Regions from separate parts of the Homo sapiens genome. Here regions 2, 3, 4, 5 and 6 are each linked to region 1. Evidence: promoter capture Hi-C in 16 types of primary human blood cells and fetal thymus (Javierre and others, 2016). All regions are on one chromosome and are shown on one strand. Each heading gives the region's core, a stretch centred on a gene start or on the middle of the fragment in contact. The rest is flanking DNA. Distances are from core to core; before and after follow the strand shown.

Evidence for each region. The method cuts DNA at HindIII sites, captures the fragments that hold promoters and counts their contacts. A CHiCAGO score of 5 or more calls a contact.
Region 2: a fragment that was not itself captured here is called in contact with the fragment with the promoter of WTAP in region 1 in 1 of 17 cell types (neutrophils); the score reaches 5.8 in neutrophils.
Region 3: a contact is called between a fragment that was not itself captured here and the fragment with the promoter of WTAP in region 1, in 1 of 17 cell types (neutrophils). The highest score is 5.1, in neutrophils.
Region 4: a fragment that was not itself captured here is called in contact with the fragment with the promoter of WTAP in region 1 in 1 of 17 cell types (neutrophils); the score reaches 7.0 in neutrophils.
Region 5: a fragment that was not itself captured here is called in contact with the fragment with the promoter of WTAP in region 1 in 1 of 17 cell types (neutrophils); the score reaches 6.6 in neutrophils.
Region 6: a contact is called between a fragment that was not itself captured here and the fragment with the promoter of WTAP in region 1, in 1 of 17 cell types (fetal thymus). The highest score is 5.2, in fetal thymus.

The regions. Positions count from the first base shown.
Region 1 is chr6:159,726,042-159,728,853 of GRCh38, forward strand. It overlaps WTAP (WT1 associated protein), which reads left to right and starts at 1,465. Exons shown (of 8, transcript NM_001270531.2): 1 at 1,465-1,662. It also overlaps a transcript of SOD2 not described here. RefSeq lists enhancers at 676-1,273, 754-843, 1,194-1,323, 1,274-1,871 and a silencer at 1,334-1,883. The HindIII fragment of the contact is 6,285 bases long and covers 1-2,812 here.
Region 2 is chr6:160,118,634-160,121,445 of GRCh38, forward strand. LOC124901452 (a long non-coding RNA gene) reads right to left here. Exons shown (of 2, transcript XR_007059842.1): 1 at 2,209-2,812; 2 at 1-796. Among named protein-coding and RNA genes, the nearest start is that of SLC22A1, 1.8 kb to the right of the region's middle. The HindIII fragment of the contact is 1,308 bases long and covers 784-2,091 here.
Region 3 is chr6:160,102,349-160,105,160 of GRCh38, forward strand. IGF2R (insulin like growth factor 2 receptor) reads left to right here. Exons shown (of 48, transcript NM_000876.4): 46 at 171-323; 47 at 1,398-1,467; 48 at 2,326-2,812. The coding sequence ends at 2,736. Among named protein-coding and RNA genes, the nearest start is that of SLC22A1, 18 kb to the right of the region's middle. The HindIII fragment of the contact is 6,206 bases long and covers 1-2,812 here.
Region 4 is chr6:160,069,643-160,072,454 of GRCh38, forward strand. It overlaps IGF2R (insulin like growth factor 2 receptor), which reads left to right. Exons shown (of 48, transcript NM_000876.4): 31 at 226-416; 32 at 2,268-2,394. Among named protein-coding and RNA genes, the nearest start is that of SLC22A1, 51 kb to the right of the region's middle. The HindIII fragment of the contact is 1,570 bases long and covers 616-2,185 here.
Region 5 is chr6:160,047,972-160,050,783 of GRCh38, forward strand. IGF2R (insulin like growth factor 2 receptor) reads left to right here. Exons shown (of 48, transcript NM_000876.4): 18 at 404-572; 19 at 2,502-2,681. Among named protein-coding and RNA genes, the nearest start is that of AIRN, 42 kb to the left of the region's middle. The HindIII fragment of the contact is 3,349 bases long and covers 1-2,812 here.
Region 6 is chr6:160,009,907-160,012,718 of GRCh38, forward strand. It overlaps IGF2R (insulin like growth factor 2 receptor), which reads left to right. Exons shown (of 48, transcript NM_000876.4): 4 at 781-879. Among named protein-coding and RNA genes, the nearest start is that of AIRN, 3.6 kb to the left of the region's middle. The HindIII fragment of the contact is 1,709 bases long and covers 592-2,300 here.

The DNA of each region.
Region 1 (2,812 bases), core at 215-2,714:
GTATACCTATTGTTTCCATGTGTGGAGCTGCACCTTCAGAATAAGGTTAGGGTTAGAAGTATAACTGCAAGGTATAAGAATAAACACAAGTAATTTTGTACTCCGTGGAACTTGAACCATTTTTCCACTCCCACCAGGAAAGGTAATTTCAACGTGTATTTCCATTGTAAGTGAGGTGGAGCGACTTTCTATGTTTAAAGACCATTACGGTATTTTTTCTGAGAATCATCTGTTCATGTCCTTCCCCATTTTCTCCTTTGGCTTTTGCACTTTTTGTTTTCAATTTTTGAGAGCTCTTGTGATACGAGTTGCAAAGATTTTCTCCAGACCGATCTGATTCACTGGAAATATACTACGACCATCTGGAATGTACTTTAATCTTATCCTAATAAATCACCTTACTACAAGACACTCCTTTGGGGATGAACAGGTTTGATAAAGCCGGCTAAGGACAGACCAATCAAAAGAATTACGTGCTCTTCTAGTAAGTGTTTAGAGACTGTTTCACGTTCTCCAGGTAACACCGCCATTACTCGGCGGTCCAGATGGCAGTCTTACTTCAGGGAGTCTACTCCACTTGCAGGACCTCTTTGATTGAGTTCACTAAACCTCACAGGGCCGCCTTCCCCGTGTTCCAGTTAGCAAGGGGCCCTCAACGCCGCGGACACAGCGCAACCTCCGACGCCAGAGAACAATAGCTCCTCGATGCGTCTCCAGAGATGTCAAGGAGGAACGAACCCAGCGGCCAGGAGACTGCGCCTCACGACTGATGAGAGGGAAGGCATCGGTTTCTAAGTTCTCAAAACTTACAGGTGAGCTTCTGCTAAGAGTAAACGCCCGCGGCTCGCCGCCCACGGCCTCTCTCTTGAGGTGGCACCTGGTCCTCCGACACGCGGAAGCATCACGGATGAGCGTCACGAACACAGAGCGGCCAATCACGCGCCGCCTTCGCCCAGATCCCTCCGCACGAGGCAGCCCCGCAGCCGCAGGTGGCCCCGGCGAGTACTTCCACCTTCCCTTCCCGTGATGCCCTGGGGCTGACCTCCGACCTCGCTGGCCCGCCCCTCCCCTCGGCCGCTTCCCTTACTGAGCTTGCTGAGCTCCGGGGCCCGCGGAGCTCGCGCCAGGCTCCTGGGAAAGGACGGGGAGTGTTACCGGGGAGCAGCTGCTCCATTGTGCCTCGAGGCCCCGATCGGGCTAGGCCGACGGCCTCCCTCCCTTCACCTTTCCTCTCCTGGCGGGGTTCGGCGGCGGGCGAGTGACTGCGGCCACGCCTGAAAGGCGACTCTCCTGTGAGTGGGCCAGAAGGCGAACATGGCGGAGCGGGGAGGCTGGCGGGAGGCGGGAGGCGGGAGGCGGGAGGCAGTGGCGCTGGCCTGCGGCGCGTTCGGACCGGCTGTGGGGCGGGGCAGGGCGGAGCGGAGCCGTGCGGCGGGGCGGGGCCGGGCGGCGGGGCCTGGTTTCCTCCCTCAGCGCCATTTTGTGGCAGCGAGACCCACAAATAAAGGGGAGCGCAGGGGTTGCGGCGGGACTAGGAGCGCGGCGGGGCCGGCGGCAGAGCTGTCCGGCTGCGCGGTGGCCCGGGGGGCCCGGGCGGCAGGGCAAGCAGCGCGGCCTCGGCCTATGCGACCGGTGGCGCCGGCGCGGCTTCTGCCTGGAGAGGTAGGCGCGGGCCGGCTGGCGGGAGCGGACGCGGGGGACCTCCGGGGCCTGAGGGCTGATGCGCAGCCGCCCCCGGCGGGTAAGGGGCGGGCAGGGCCCGAAAGGCCACACGGGCCTGGTGCGGCACCGGTCTCTCGTGAGCCGCTCTACCTTCCCGCCTGCGGGGAACACTTCCGCCGCTTCGAGGCCATTTTATCTCTGTCCTCCGTCCCCAAGGCCCGGGTTGAGAGGGGTGCTCTGGCGGCCGGAGAGACCGGCCACTCACGGAGGCCGGAGGATGCCCTCCCCGGGCTGAGCGGCGGCGCTCGTTTTTTCCTCGCCTCGGGGTCGCCCCCTTCACCTCCCTTGGGCCTCTCCTGAGGACCTGGCGGCACTAACGAGTTCAGCAAGGAAAAAAAGAAACATTCGTTCCCTACATTTCATGTCACGCAGTAGGATGTTACTACGTTCTCTTGTAGACTTCCATTTTTAAATGAGTATAAGCATTCTGAGGAAAGAAACTGAATTATTGCAGATTTTTGTGAAATCCAAGTCTTACCTTGGATCCCTGTGAGACAGTTACTAGATTTTTTTTTCACCGTTTTTCATAAGTCTGTGTACACGTAATGGAAAAGCCCGAGTTCTTGTTTTGATAAGAAAGTCACTTGGTTGTTTGATCCCAAAGGATTAGCTTAACATTATCAAGGACTAGCATAACTGTGATTATGTAAAAAAAACAAAACAAAACAAAAAAACTATTATTTAGTCTGGTAGGGAAATACTTCTATGAGTATGTTACAATTGGAAGTTGTATTTGTGCCTATTTTATCTAGTTTTAGTTAATTCCATTGCTTCGGAAGATAAGTGGACGTCATAGATCCATCGCAAGTTCTCGTTTTTTGGATTTTAAAATTTTGACCATTAAGTTTTCTACGATAGATAAACATGTTGTGGACATTTAAAACCGTAATTTAAAACTATGAGCGAAAAATCTTTTCAAGATGGATACATTTTAATTCATTCAAGTAGCATCTGATTAGCCAAGTCGGGGAAAGATTGCAGTCCGCAAAGCTGGCTTGTGATAAGGTTGAGGTTACATTTTAAGGGTTTGGGTAGGTGTGTTTCTTACAGTGCTTTTATATGTTAAGGTATCTTAAGCAGACACATGGTT
Region 2 (2,812 bases), core at 188-2,687, 390 kb after region 1:
CCTCCTTCTTCCCAGGACTCTGTCTGCCTCCTGCTGCCATTCATGGCCCCAGGTCTCAACCCCAACCCTGCTCTGAGATCGGAGCAGGTGCTGGGATGGGAGAGGGGCCAGGCAGTGGGAGCAGACTCTTCTGAGCCTGGGATGGGGACTAGTGGGGAGGCCTTCCCAGGCCCCTGAGGTTGCAGGCTGCAGAGATGCCCAGGTCTTGTGCCTGGGAGGGCAGCCACAGCTGCATCCACGGAACTCCCACCCTGCCAACTCAGAAGGGGTGGGGTTCCTGCTTGTCCCTGGCTCCTGCCTGCTCTGTGGAGTGAGAGGCCCAGGTCTGCAGCCACAGGTCAGGTGGTTGCAGCTGCATCCAGGCAGGCAGATCTGGCCTGCTGCTGGCCCCCTCCAAGAGCACAAGGAGGCTTGGATCCACAGTCCCAGGAGGGTGGGGCTTCCATCAGCTCCGTGGAGTGTTCAGCCCCAGCCACGCCTCCCTGCTGCTGCCATCATTTCCCCCTCTGAAGAGGTACACCTAACTGCTGTTAGGGTAGGGACAATGACCACTCTTAACTGCTTCGTGCTGACCAGGGATATTGTTTTGGGAAAACAACAGTCAAGTCTCTCTCAGAGACCTATCTAAGAATATCCAGTACAAGGCAGCCATCATCTGAGGCTCCATTTTCATGACCATTTGGAGTTTAACGGCCCATCCCTTGTTTCTTCTGAGCTGTAGTCAGATATCACTAGTTGGTTCACCTTCACAATTGTCAAAAGCTACAAATAGCTCAAAAGAAAAGCTTCCTTGATTCTGAAAAACAAGATAAAGGATCAACAGTATTCCAAGCAAAAGGTCAAAACAAGATTGCTTCAGTCTTCTATTAGTTCAGCTCACCCAGTCAACTCCTATTCACAATCTCCAAAATTATCAGAAATCTGCATTTGAAGACTATAATCCATCCCTTGAAGAGGATCAAAACATGACAACAATTGTCTGTGAATGTCAAAATGTCCTAGCGTATTCATAGTCAAAAACACAATTGATGAAGAAATCTGGTCACCTCTGTGATTTACAATAACCTAACACAATAACCCTAGCTATGATTGATAACACAAACTCAGGCATCAGAAATCTAGAAATCCCATACAATTTTGAAACACACATTAACATTTTTCACTAAAATATAACCTGAAGATCAAACACCTTATTTTGGTAATCCTATGTAACTAAACTTGTCAAATAACCCTGTTTACCTCTCCCTTTCGATGCTCCAGGTGTCTTCTGTAGCATCCAAAACTCAGGGGTTAGGAAAGAAAATTTTGAAGCTGTAAAGGCTCAAAACACTTAACAGAATTTTTGGTTACTATAAGTCATTCATTTAAATGACTCAAAGCAAAAACCTTCAGTCACTAAGAGGGAAGACCTAATTTTCCAAACAATCTAACTTTTAACCATCGCACTCCTTTTTAAGAAGTCCTTTTAAGTCTCTTATTATCCAACTTTAGCCATGCCAAATGGCCAGTTGAATTCATGGAGGGGCAGAGAATATAGTGATTTTTTTATTGTTCCTGCAACCAGTTTGCACAGAGAGAGAAACCAAAAGTCTGACTGGTAAGAACTTTTACCCTTTCGCCAGCATGTCAGGCTGCTGAGCTCCCTTCCCCTCAGCTATGGAGCCCTATTGACCCTGGAGTCCTGTTGATCTCTTGTCCTTCCCTTCTTGTGTCAGTAGCTTATTCACAAAGAAAACAAAATCTTTCATTGCATGAAAATCTTGTTCAAGTGAAAGCCAAATTTTACCCTTACATTAGTCTATTAATGTCAACCCCAATTAAAAAAAATAAAACCTTACAGAGAAATCCATCCAATCTTAATCAGTTTGATCATGAACTGAGATTGTTATAAATCTTTTATAACCTTTTACAAATTTTTTTTGTTAAACAGCATGTAAGTGCTTCAAGAAAACCTTGTTGTGCTTGTATTCCATTGTTCAACTTATGGAAAACCAAATAATATCCTTTTTAGTGTAGTCAATATGTTTACACACAGGATTCCTTTTACAAGATTAATTTTTTACAAACCTTCCATAACTTGTTTGAACCTTAAGCTTTATCTTATATAATTTAAAACAATCATTTAACCCTCTGAACTAGGCAAAAATTTACATTCCCATGCCTTCTTATATTATTTTACTAATGATACATTTTACTCTCCTTACTCACCTCACGTGTAGATCTGTTTTCAGTAGTCATCACTACATGTTATAATGGTAGCTCTTAGTAATTGTTAATTTTGGTGAAATACCCAGTAAGTTATTTTAGTTACGTACTTAGGTGCAGATGAGGTCTAACTATTTCCAGCATAGCTAGGGCAGGCCCTACCAAACTGCAAAGCAGGAAAGTTGAACAATTTTCAAAAGCCAAAGCAGTTTATGACCTTAAAGCATTTAGTCAACCTAGTTTCTGACTTGCATAATTTAGACCATGTCTATATTTTGAAGACATTTCTATTTTCATTTTACTGATAATTTAAAAGACAGCCTATTTAGCAAAGTCATACTTAAGTGAATTTGAAAATTGCTTAGACTTATTTACTTAATTTATGAACACTCTTTTACTTATAAGCCAATTTGGTAGACACAACATATAACAGTAAGTGTACATACAAGTAAACACATCTAGACATGTATACACACACACAAATGAAGAGGTGGAGCTTAAAACACCCAAATTGGGTGCAGTGTATACTGCTTGGGAGATGGATGCACCAAAATCTCACAAATCACCACTAAAGAACCTGCTCATGTAACCAAATAATACCTGTTCC
Region 3 (2,812 bases), core at 161-2,660, 380 kb after region 1:
CTCTTCCATGTGGAGTGGGACTTGTGGCCTTGTTTTCTGGGCAGGAGTAAGAATCACATGGTGTTGGGAAAGTCAGAGCTGCTCTTGCCTTGGGGACTCAGGTCTCAGGTTGTGGCTGTGGCAGCAGGACCACCCTGTGACACGGCTCCTTTTCTGTGACGTCCTTGCAGGGTGGGCTTTGACAGCGAGAATCCCGGGGACGACGGGCAGATGCACAAGGGGCTGTCAGAACGGAGCCAGGCAGTCGGCGCGGTGCTCAGCCTGCTGCTGGTGGCGCTCACCTGCTGCCTGCTGGCCCTGTTGCTCTACAAGAAGGAGAGGAGGTAAGCGGGTGGCAGGGCGAGGTGGGGCGGGTGGATGCATGCCTCCCATAGCTAATCTTGGGGTCAGTTTTGTGGGGTTTTATTTATTTGTTTTTAAGCCCTACAGCAGCGAAGGCTCGAGGTTCTTAGTCCAAAACTCTCTGGAAGCAGTCCCCAGCGTTGTGGTTTTTAAATGCCTGCATTTCTGTCTGACCAAGGCCGAGGCCCTCGCACATCACCCGTGCCTGCGGCTTCTAGGACCGTGGTCCTTTGTGTCCAAAGATGAGTAGAACATTAAACGGCACCTTTCATGGGTGCCTTTTCCCACTGAGCAGCTGACCCCTCTGCCCTCCTCACATCATAAATGCAGGAGTTTATTAAGCGCCTGCTATGTACCAGGTATGATGCCATCCTTTTGCGCCACTTTGCTGGGTGAAAGGACTCTCCATGTGACGGTCAAGCAGATTTTCACGTCAGGCGTCAGTGTTAGTGGCTCTGACCTGGGGGCAGGAGCTGGCCAGCTCAGGCGTTCCCTGCTGCCACTGTCATTTGCCAGCTGAGCCACAGGCCAATGAGAGAGGTGGTCAGAAAGTACCAACCATGGAGGTTGCAGTGAGCCAAGATCTCACCACTGCACTCTAGCCTGGGCAACACAGTGAGACTCTGTCCAAAAAAAAAAAAAAAGTACCGATTGTGGCCCTCTACACCCAAAATGCAGAATGGGGCAGAAGAAGGTCTGGGCCGGGAAGGGCATGTGATGTCTGTCTCTGCGAGCCACCATTGGGCAGGCTTAGTGGCGACGGACTGGTGTGGTCCTGTTAGTCATGTGAAAAAGTCCTTGCCCTAATGTTAAGTTGCTCTAGAGGGCCCTCTGCTGTTGGATTCCAAAGCCCATCTTCTTTCCACTCAATCACAACAAATACATTAGGGTATATATAACCTGTCACGGCTACTCATTTGTCATTCAGAATGTGGGAGAAATGCAGCCACCACCAGCCCCCTGGTGGTGCAGATGGGGGTGGGGCTGGCGGGGGTGGGGCTCCTGCCCATGCCCTCTCTACACTGGAGTAATTATTGTCTCCTTTTTTTTTATAGGGAAACAGTGATAAGTAAGCTGACCACTTGCTGTAGGAGAAGTTCCAACGTGTCCTACAAATACTCAAAGGTAATTTTCTGTGGCGAGTCTCTTGAAGGCCTGCCTCCCCGGCCCCCTGTGCTGCGCTGTCCATGTCGTTCTCATCAGGGGTGCCAAGGAAAGCAGTCACAGGCTGACTGGAATCCAGAAAGGAAAGCAACACCCGTTGCCTCAGCCACTTACGCCAGCACATTTTTTTGTTATTTTTTTCCCTCAAGTTTCTCTCGTGGTTACAACTGATTTCCTTGAAGTATTTAATAATTAGGTTGTTTCCACTGTTTTTGGCTGTTCTTTAAAAAAAAAACAAAACACACACACACACAGTAGTGAAGATAGTTGTGCATGTAGCATTTGGATGATTTCTTTCAGGTAAATTTGCAGAAAAGAGGCATTATCTGGATCAAAGGACATAATGTTTGTGGTCTCGATGGGTAATGATGAATTGCTCTCTAAAACTAGGCTTTTGACTGGAGTCCCTCCTTTGACATTCCTCCCCTGCCATGCAGTGGGCACCTTTCAGTCTATGAGTAGCCCGGAAGAGCCCCTTCTCCCCCAGCTGCGCTGGGGGATCACTGGTCTGCTTTTCGGTCCAGGCCATCCCGAACGCCTTCTGCTTGGTCCCACCCTTGGCTGTGAGACTCCTGCCAAATGACCCCACTGCCACCCTCCCAAACCCTCCTGCCTTGGTGCAGTCTCATTAGGAACAGGAAGGTGTTGCCAGCCCTCGTCTTCCTTTCCCTGGGAACTGGAGATGCAGTGACTGTGAGGACAGTGGGCCAGTTCTTCCCCAGCTCGTGCCAGCAGAGAGCATCCCTGATGTGGTGGATGGTGGAGCAGAATGGGGTCTCTTAGGGGGCTCACGTGGTCTCTGCTGTTGATCCCTGGCAGGTGAATAAGGAAGAAGAGACAGATGAGAATGAAACAGAGTGGCTGATGGAAGAGATCCAGCTGCCTCCTCCACGGCAGGGAAAGGAAGGGCAGGAGAACGGCCATATTACCACCAAGTCAGTGAAAGCCCTCAGCTCCCTGCATGGGGATGACCAGGACAGTGAGGATGAGGTTCTGACCATCCCAGAGGTGAAAGTTCACTCGGGCAGGGGAGCTGGGGCAGAGAGCTCCCACCCAGTGAGAAACGCACAGAGCAATGCCCTTCAGGAGCGTGAGGACGATAGGGTGGGGCTGGTCAGGGGTGAGAAGGCGAGGAAAGGGAAGTCCAGCTCTGCACAGCAGAAGACAGTGAGCTCCACCAAGCTGGTGTCCTTCCATGACGACAGCGACGAGGACCTCTTACACATCTGACTCCGCAGTGCCTGCAGGGGAGCACGGAGCCGCGGGACAGCCAAGCACCTCCAACCAAATAAGACTTCCACTCGAT
Region 4 (2,812 bases), core at 151-2,650, 340 kb after region 1:
CCCGCCTGCCCCAGTCCATCTGTGACAAAACAGCATGTAAGTGAGTGAGAACTAACGTGATGTCATTGTCATCTGACTTATGTGAAAGAAATAGCAGGTATTTTGAAGTGACTCTTAGAAAGCGTATGAAGTTCTGCAGCGTGTGTGACATTTATTGCCTGATGAAGTTCTGTTCTAGCCTGGGGAGTCACTAAAGGCAACTCTTTCTTGTGTCTGGTGCTGCAGAGCCGTGCCCTCCAGAAGCAGCCGCGTGTCTGCTGGGTGGCTCCAAGCCCGTGAACCTCGGCAGGGTAAGGGACGGACCTCAGTGGAGAGATGGCATAATTGTCCTGAAATACGTTGATGGCGACTTATGTCCAGATGGGATTCGGAAAAAGTCAACCACCATCCGATTCACCTGCAGCGAGAGCCAAGTGGTAAGGGACTGTTCCTGCACCTTCTGCTGTTGCAGCTTTGGGAATTGAGCCCATGTGCAGGGCGGTGAGCCGCACGTCCTCATCTGCCTTGGGATGCGAGTTCTAGAGCCTGGGATGATGCGCCCTTACCAGAGGTTGGGGGAACAGCGTCGCCGCGGCCTGCAATCTGGGGAACCCTCGTGCTGTCTGGCTCCTTAGAAGCTTGCCTGGCAGTTCCCGACTCAGAATTGGTTCTCTTCAGAGTTTGACTCAGACCCCTAAAGGCTGTGGAGGAGATTGTTGTTTGACTACATGCCCTTTTGTCTTCACGGCGGCAGCTTGGGAAGCACGAGAAGGTTGGCTGGGCCCGGGTCACAGGTAGCGCTGCCACTTCCCAGCCACATAACTTGGTTAATTACTCAGGTAGTCTGCCCTGCTCAGCCGTTCATAACATGAGGCATACTTGTCCTGCCCATTGCAGGGTTTCGAGAGAAGAGGTAGGAAGTGCCAGGTGTCATTTCTGACACACGGGAGATGCACAGTCAGTGAGCATGAGTGCCTGTGATCAGTTCTTCCCTTACTTGTTTGGCATGCACGTAAGCAGGTGTCGACTGCATACAGGTTTTTCTGTGTGTGAGATTGTGGTGAGCCCCAGTGCTAGCGTGCATGACAAGCTCGGTGGCTGAGTTGGGCATTAACTCGGGCAAGACCAGCTCGCTGGGTGTCAGGGTGGCTCGCCCCATGCTCTCCAGCGGTGGGCAGCAGTGGTAGGGGAGCTTGGGATGGGGGGCTCCAGGAGCTTCAGGCCTGCCCTCTTGCCTGGAGCGGCAGGGAAGTTTCCTCTTGGGAAGATTGTGCAGAGGCTTAGTCCAGACTCATGAGCTGCTGGGGCCTCTGAGCATTCTCCTCTGTGACCTGAGAGGCTCATGGCCGAGGACAAAAGGGCTGCCCCACATGTGGGGGGCAAAGGTGAGAGGGTGTGTGGGGCCCCTGTGCCCAGGGCCCAGAAGGCTGGGAGGGAAGGGTGAAGGGGTGTGTGGGGTTCCCCATGTCCAGAGCCCAGGAGGCTGGGAGGGAAGGATGAGGGTGGTGTGTGGGGGCCTCTGTGCCCCAGACCCAGGAGGCTGGGAGGGAAAGGTGAAGGGTGTGTGGAGGCCCTGTGCCCCAGACCCAGGAGGCTGGGAGGGAAGGGTGGGGGTGTGTCGAGGCCCCTGTGCCCAGGGCCCAGGAGGCTGGGAGGGAAGGGTGGGGGTGTGTCGAGGCCCCTGTGCCCAGGGCCTGGGAGGCTGGACTGCAGCGTGGCTTATCAGGGTGCCCAGCAGGAATCATGGGGTTTACCTGGGAAGGAAGGTGCTGCTGAACTCATCATGCTAACTCTGCAGTGGACATGAAGCGTTTTGAGATGAGCAGAGTAAGCCTTGGCTGGTGCCAGTGGGAGGATGCGTGGAATGGGCTAGTTCTCTTGGTATATCTTTTTGTTTTGACTGTGATAATGGATTTTACCTCATTTGGTTTTTAGAATTTTATCAATGATTTACACATTTGTGTCTCCCTGTAGCCCTTCCAGCATCCTTTGCACGCCTGTCCCCAACCCCTGTCCTGTTCCTCAGCCTGAGGGAGCTTCCTGGTCCCCTAAGTGTGTTGCTGCCTGTGGGTGTTTCACTTACCTGCAGGGGAAGCCCATGGTGGCAGCTCAGGACACATTCTGACCCTTTGCTTTTCCTAATCTGCGCCTCATCCCACAGGCACATGGAGACAGAAATGTCACATGCTGTGGAGTTTTTCAGAGAAGCTTCCACTTGTAAGTTGAAATCATGATAGACATGGAGTTTTTGCGTGATCCCTTCAGGACCTGTCTGTGCTTTGTTGTAGAACTCCAGGCCCATGTTCATCAGCGCCGTGGAGGACTGTGAGTACACCTTTGCCTGGCCCACAGCCACAGCCTGTCCCATGAAGAGCAACGAGCATGATGACTGCCAGGTCACCAACCCAAGCACAGGTGAGAGGTGGTGCCAGTCGTTAACCCCAGCGCAGGTGAGAGACGGTGCCCCCACCAAACCCAGCTCATCAGGGGAGAGACCCAAAGAGAAGCTATGGGCAGCAGGCGCCCTGGGCAGAGGTGTCATGGTGTGTGGGTGTGTTTGGCCTTTCTCTGGATGGGCTGCTGTGTGTTCTCCTGGCTCTCCTTCAGTGGAGGAGAGAATGCTCCCACAGAGAATCCATCCCTCCTGTCACTCTCCTGGTGTGAGAGGTGCTCCTGACTGGGGTTACTGACAGTGTCAGTCCAGCAGCTCTAGGCTCTCCAGGGCAGGTTAGAGCTAGCCCCTGGCTGCCTTTCAGCATCAGTGTAGTGGATTGCCAGGAGTCTCTCACCTGCCCTTGTGCTGGGCACCCAGAAAGGCACAGGCACAGTCCAT
Region 5 (2,812 bases), core at 129-2,628, 320 kb after region 1:
GTGAGCGTGTGACTGAGCTGATGATGGGGAGTGATGCTGGCTGTGGGGCTGCAGGACCAAGGTGGGGCATTTTCAGCAGAGTGAATTCTAATAACTGTCTGGTCGCCTTTGGGATAGCAACCAGTCTTGGCCACAGCAGAGCCTCGGCCTTTAGCTTCATCATTTAAAACAATGACTGTCAGTGCAGAGGCACGGGGGACAGTTAAGGTCCACTGCATACTGAGTTCAGCGAAGGTGGAGTGTAATCCTGGTGCGTCATGCGCCCAGACAAGCCAACTCCTGGTAGTGTGATTGGTGGAGCATGTTTTATTTGGTAGCTTTACTTCCCCAACTACATAGAAATAAATGAGACTGAAATGTGTAAGCTCTTTAAAAGCATATACATTTTGCTTTGAAATTTTAGTCTGGCAAAATCTGAAGGTGGCCTTGGAGGAAACTGGTATGCCATGGACAACTCAGGGGAACATGTCACGTGGAGGAAATACTACATTAACGTGTGTCGGCCTCTGAATCCAGTGCCGGGCTGCAACCGATATGCATCGGCTTGCCAGATGAAGTATGAAAAAGATCAGGTGAATCTGTTTTCACTGCTTGTCTCCTTTGCCCTCCTAATTCCATGACTTAGTGGGAGGAGGTGGTTATTCTGGGACATCCAGATCAAAGGCAGCACAGCTGCTCGAGAGAAACCCTCTGAGTAGGAGTGGGGCCTCCATGTGAACTCATCTGCCTCCTGTAGGAGCAGAAGTGTGTCACACAGGAATCATTGTTCACATGGAGAATGCTGTGTTGCAGACTTTTGATCACACAAAGGGCAGAGGAAGCACCGAATGGTTATGTCTAGCCTGAATTCAAAAGTGTCTTTAGGTGCTTTCAGCAGACACCTGTGAAAAAGAGAGTTTTGCTTCCAAAAGCTCTTGTTTCTGGATTGATTAGGGGGAAAAACCGATTTGGGAGAGTTGCTGTGGATGAACCAGATTCAAGCACACGCTCTCATTCGCTGCAGTTCGTCCCTGGGTTGAATGCAGTCACCGCCAGAACATTTACCCGTCTCCTGTGGTCGTTGTACGTGGTGAATCTTAAAAGAGATGTCTCTGGACATCTGTATTGGCTTCTGTAAAAATAGCATGTTGGGAATGTACTTTTCTTGGTGTATGCTAATGGCAGCTTGGAGGTTTTTGAAAGGAAGGTGGCAAGTGTGCTCTGGTGGTTAGGAATCGAGTTCCTGGTTGTGTTTACCTCTGCACATGTGTGTTCTTTACTGGAGCAATGAGTTCAGTGTATAGTCAGTCCTCTTTATTCACAGATTCTGCATCTGTGAACTTGCCTACTTGAGAACACGTGTAACTCCAAAATCACCACGCGGAACACTTTCTCAGTCATTGTTGGAACGAGTGTAGTGGCCCAATGTGCATAGTACCCGACAAGCCTGTTCCTGGTTGAAGTTGAACAGGGGGACACTCTGGCCTCTTGTTTCTGCCTCACCCTGAGATGAGCAGGGGATGGAGAGGGCGAGGCAGTGCAGTGCAAAAGCTCCAGCCCTGGGGCCAGTTGGACGGGGTCTGAATTCCAACTCTGGCATCTCAACTCAGAGATGCTCCAGAGCTGGAACTTCCGCGCTGCACTGCCTGGTAAGGTCTCCCTAAGAGAAGTTTCTTGCCTAGAATTCACACTAAAGCCTTTTCAAACATGACTTACTCCCTTGTGTTCGGAAAGTTTAGCGGGGCAGCCTTAGGTGAGCCACTTAACACTCCTTAACCTCGTTTTTCCTTCTGTAAAATAAAGAGAGTAGAATCTGTCAGCATGAGTTGTCTTGGGATTTCAGATTTATAATCTGTGTGTAATAGGTTTGTTTGCCTGATGTGCGGCCAGTCAGTACGCTGAGACATTGGGGATTACAGCCGAGAAAGAGTTTAATTGTAGGGCAGGCGAATGAGGAGATGAGAAGAAACCTCAAATTCACCTCCCTAAGGAATTTGGGTTGAGGGACTTAAGGGATTTGGAGCGGGCCAAGGTGTGGGGATTGTTTATTGGTAGAAGAGTGCAGGGTGAAGTCATCGGATGGGGAGATGAAGAAACTGCATTTGGTTCCCTGTAGGGAGGTCTTCATAGTGGTTAGTGTCAGCCGTTCCACCGGAATTCAGGATCTGAAGAACATCTTACACGATTATTGAACGAAAGCCTTATGATTCCAATGCCAGTGATTCTTTCTGTAGCAATAATGGGGATGTGACTAGTATCTAGTGCTATGTGACTTTCAGTTACAGGCCAGCATGCAGCCTGATTGGTGCTCAATTGCATGCCTGGAACGCAGCATGCAGTTGTTGTTAACTCTTTGAGGATGGTTTCCTATTCCATATGTAATAAGGGGATTTCCCCAGGAGCAGTGGTTCTGTATTCAATAATTCATTGTTTGCTGCAGCTTTATAGAATGTAACCACCACCAATAACGAATCGACTGTATCTTCAGGGGGAAAAGCCTAACAAGACTGGTTTTCTTGCAGGGCTCCTTCACTGAAGTGGTTTCCATCAGTAACTTGGGAATGGCAAAGACCGGCCCGGTGGTTGAGGACAGCGGCAGCCTCCTTCTGGAATACGTGAATGGGTCGGCCTGCACCACCAGCGATGGCAGACAGACCACATATACCACGAGGATCCATCTCGTCTGCTCCAGGGGCAGGCTGGTAAGGCACTGCTGCTGGCTGGTGACCTTCACTGCTGCATTTTTTGACTGAGCGTTGCCTTATGTGTCTCTTAACAGCAGCAGTCTTGGGGTGGGTGGCGGAGCTAGGCCAGTCTTAGTTCTGCTTAAGGT
Region 6 (2,812 bases), core at 196-2,695, 280 kb after region 1:
CTGAAGAACTTTGAAAATAAAACTAATATTGTTAATTTTGGATCCGCATATAAATTGCATCGTTGTGCATATTGAGACCCAAAAAAGAATCTGTTCGCAGCAGCATTAAATGAGATTTATATTACAGAATAAAATATATAGCTCCTGTTTTAACTTCAGCTAATTTCCTTTATGAATTCTGTGTTCACCATACCAGAAATAGAACTGTGAAGGATAACTCCCTAGACTTGCACGTGGGAGTGAAGAGGCCAGTTCCTGCTGTGCTTGTGTCATCCTGCGATGCTGGGGTTGACCTGTTTGTAGTCCACTCTGGTTGCGGTTAACAGGAGGGGCTGCCTTGGAGGGTTGGCGTCTGGTGGGTGTACTAACTTGGTCAGATGCAGATGGGCTCCTCATGGGAGCCTTTTCACGGGAAGCATGAGGTCACGTTTTCTGGCTTTCGTTTGCTGGCATTTGCTTAAGAGAACATTTGGAGTTTGAGAGGAGAATGACTGAGGATTTCTTCCCATGAACTCACTCAATGTACTTGCACAGCTGGGGCGGTAGAATTCCTTTGGATTAGTTACACAAAATCCCAACATGATTTTATGAAGCTTTGGTCTCAGAATTTGCAGATTTGGGAACCTCTTGATGACCCCGTTTAACTAAAGCGGTTGCATCCCCTGCCCTTCTTGCTGCTGCTTTCTTTATTTTAGTAGCCTTTACTGCATTCTCATTTTAAAGAAGAATCTTTACAATGTGTGGTATGGTAACATTATAATTACTATTTTTTTTTAATAGGGAACTCCTGAATTTGTAACTGCAACAGAATGTGTGCACTACTTTGAGTGGAGGACCACTGCAGCCTGCAAGAAAGACATATTTAAAGCAAATAAGGAGGTAACATGGGAACTTCAAATTACATGCTTATGAAGTATACTCTGGGGAACTTTATCTTTCAAATACTGATTCTAACCTTTCCGGGTGAAAATCTTTTTTAGCTTCCAAATTGCATTTGAGCAGAGATACCATGTGATTTAATTTTTAAAACTTTTCTGAGTGGTTCTTATTTTTAGGACAGGGCATTTAAAATATCACAGGATGTGATTTTTGGTCCAGATTGGAAATAGAATGGCTCATCCATATAGGGCAAGTTAGTTCTTGGTTTCTGGTGCTGTGCAACTCAGTAAACTAAGTGACGTGTTTGGGCTTGGGCTTAGAGTATTCACTCTACCTGCAGGAGCCATCTGTTTCTGACGCTGCCTGCTTCATCTTCCTTTGCACCTGGCTTTCCACCTGTGTTGTACCCCGCTTTTGATAAGTCTCCTTTACCTGTTTGCATTGTTAAATCTCTCTGTCCCTCTCCTCAGCCTTGGGATGACTTCTGGCTGCAATGTGAGTCCAGGTCAGGTATCCCTTAAATTCTTTTCCAGCTCACCTCAGAGACTAGATTACTAGGTTACTGTTACTATTACGTCCACCCCTTATTATTTGAACCCAGCATTCCTTGGTCAAGACATTCTTCTTGGGTGCATGTATGTATATATATCTATATACATACACACTGACCTATATGTATTATGTGCAACATGATATTTTGAAATATGTATACATTGAGGAATGGCTACATTGAGCTAATTACATATGTGTTACCTCACATATTTCGTTTTTTTTTTTTTTTTTGTGAGGACTCTTAAAATCTACTCTCTTAGTGATACGCAAGAATAAATTACATTGTTATTAACTGTGGTTGTGGTGGTGTTTAATGGATCTCTTGGGCAGGTCATTCTTGTTGACTAATGGAATGTCCCCTTCCCCAGCCTGGATTCCCTCATGTTGCACTGCTACTTGATTCTCCCTGGTCCTGGGGAAGAGCAGACTGTGTTCCTTCTGCCGCTTCTCCATGCCCACCACCCCAGATCCTAAAGGGAATTTCCTGTTCTCACCTTGATAACAATCTTAATTAATTGATTATCTCACTTTTCTCTCCTACTTTCTGTTTTTAAGAACTTTCAAAGGTTGTAAGGATTCAGGAACTAATGAATGGTCATAATCAGTAATTTTTACTAGTGGCCTAATACCATGCAGTTTAATAAGACAAAAAGAAATGTTTATTTAAAAACATTAATTCAGATTAAATTATGAACAATAAATCACTGATATTTTCAGATATGGTCATCTATGAAGGGAAAGACAGTGTCATATGGAAGTGGAAGTGGTAAAATACTGCCCAGGAAAGCCATAAGGAGCATTCAATGAAAAAAAAAAAGTTTAAAGTGGAAAGAATTAAGGCTGATATTTAGGAGACAGTGTCAAATGTAAGCTTCATTTAAAAACTTAGGTGAAGCTGTTAGATGACATACTGTTAGCGGTGGGAAAAGCATCTCAAAGCAGACATCTGTTTGGGGTTTGGGGGTGAGGGTGGGAGCACAGTGTGTTCATTCTCGCAGTGCTATAAAGAAACACCTGAGACTGGGTAATTTATAAAGAAAAGAGGTATAATTAGCTCACAGTTCCGCAGGTTGTAAAGGAAGAATGGCAGCATCTGCATCTGGAGAAGCCTCAGGAAACTTACAGTCATGGCAGAAGGCAACAGAGTATCGAGCACCTCACGTGGCCAGAGCCTGAGGAAGAGAGTGGGAGGGGGAGGTGCCGCCCACTTTGAAATGACCAGATCTCACAAGAACTCACTCACTATCATGATAATAGCAAGAAGGGGGTGATGGAATCTGCCCTCATGATCCAGTCACCTCCCCAGGCCCCGCCTCCAATGTTGAGGATTACAATTTGACACAAGATTTGAGTGGGGACACACAGTCATCCTGGGATTACA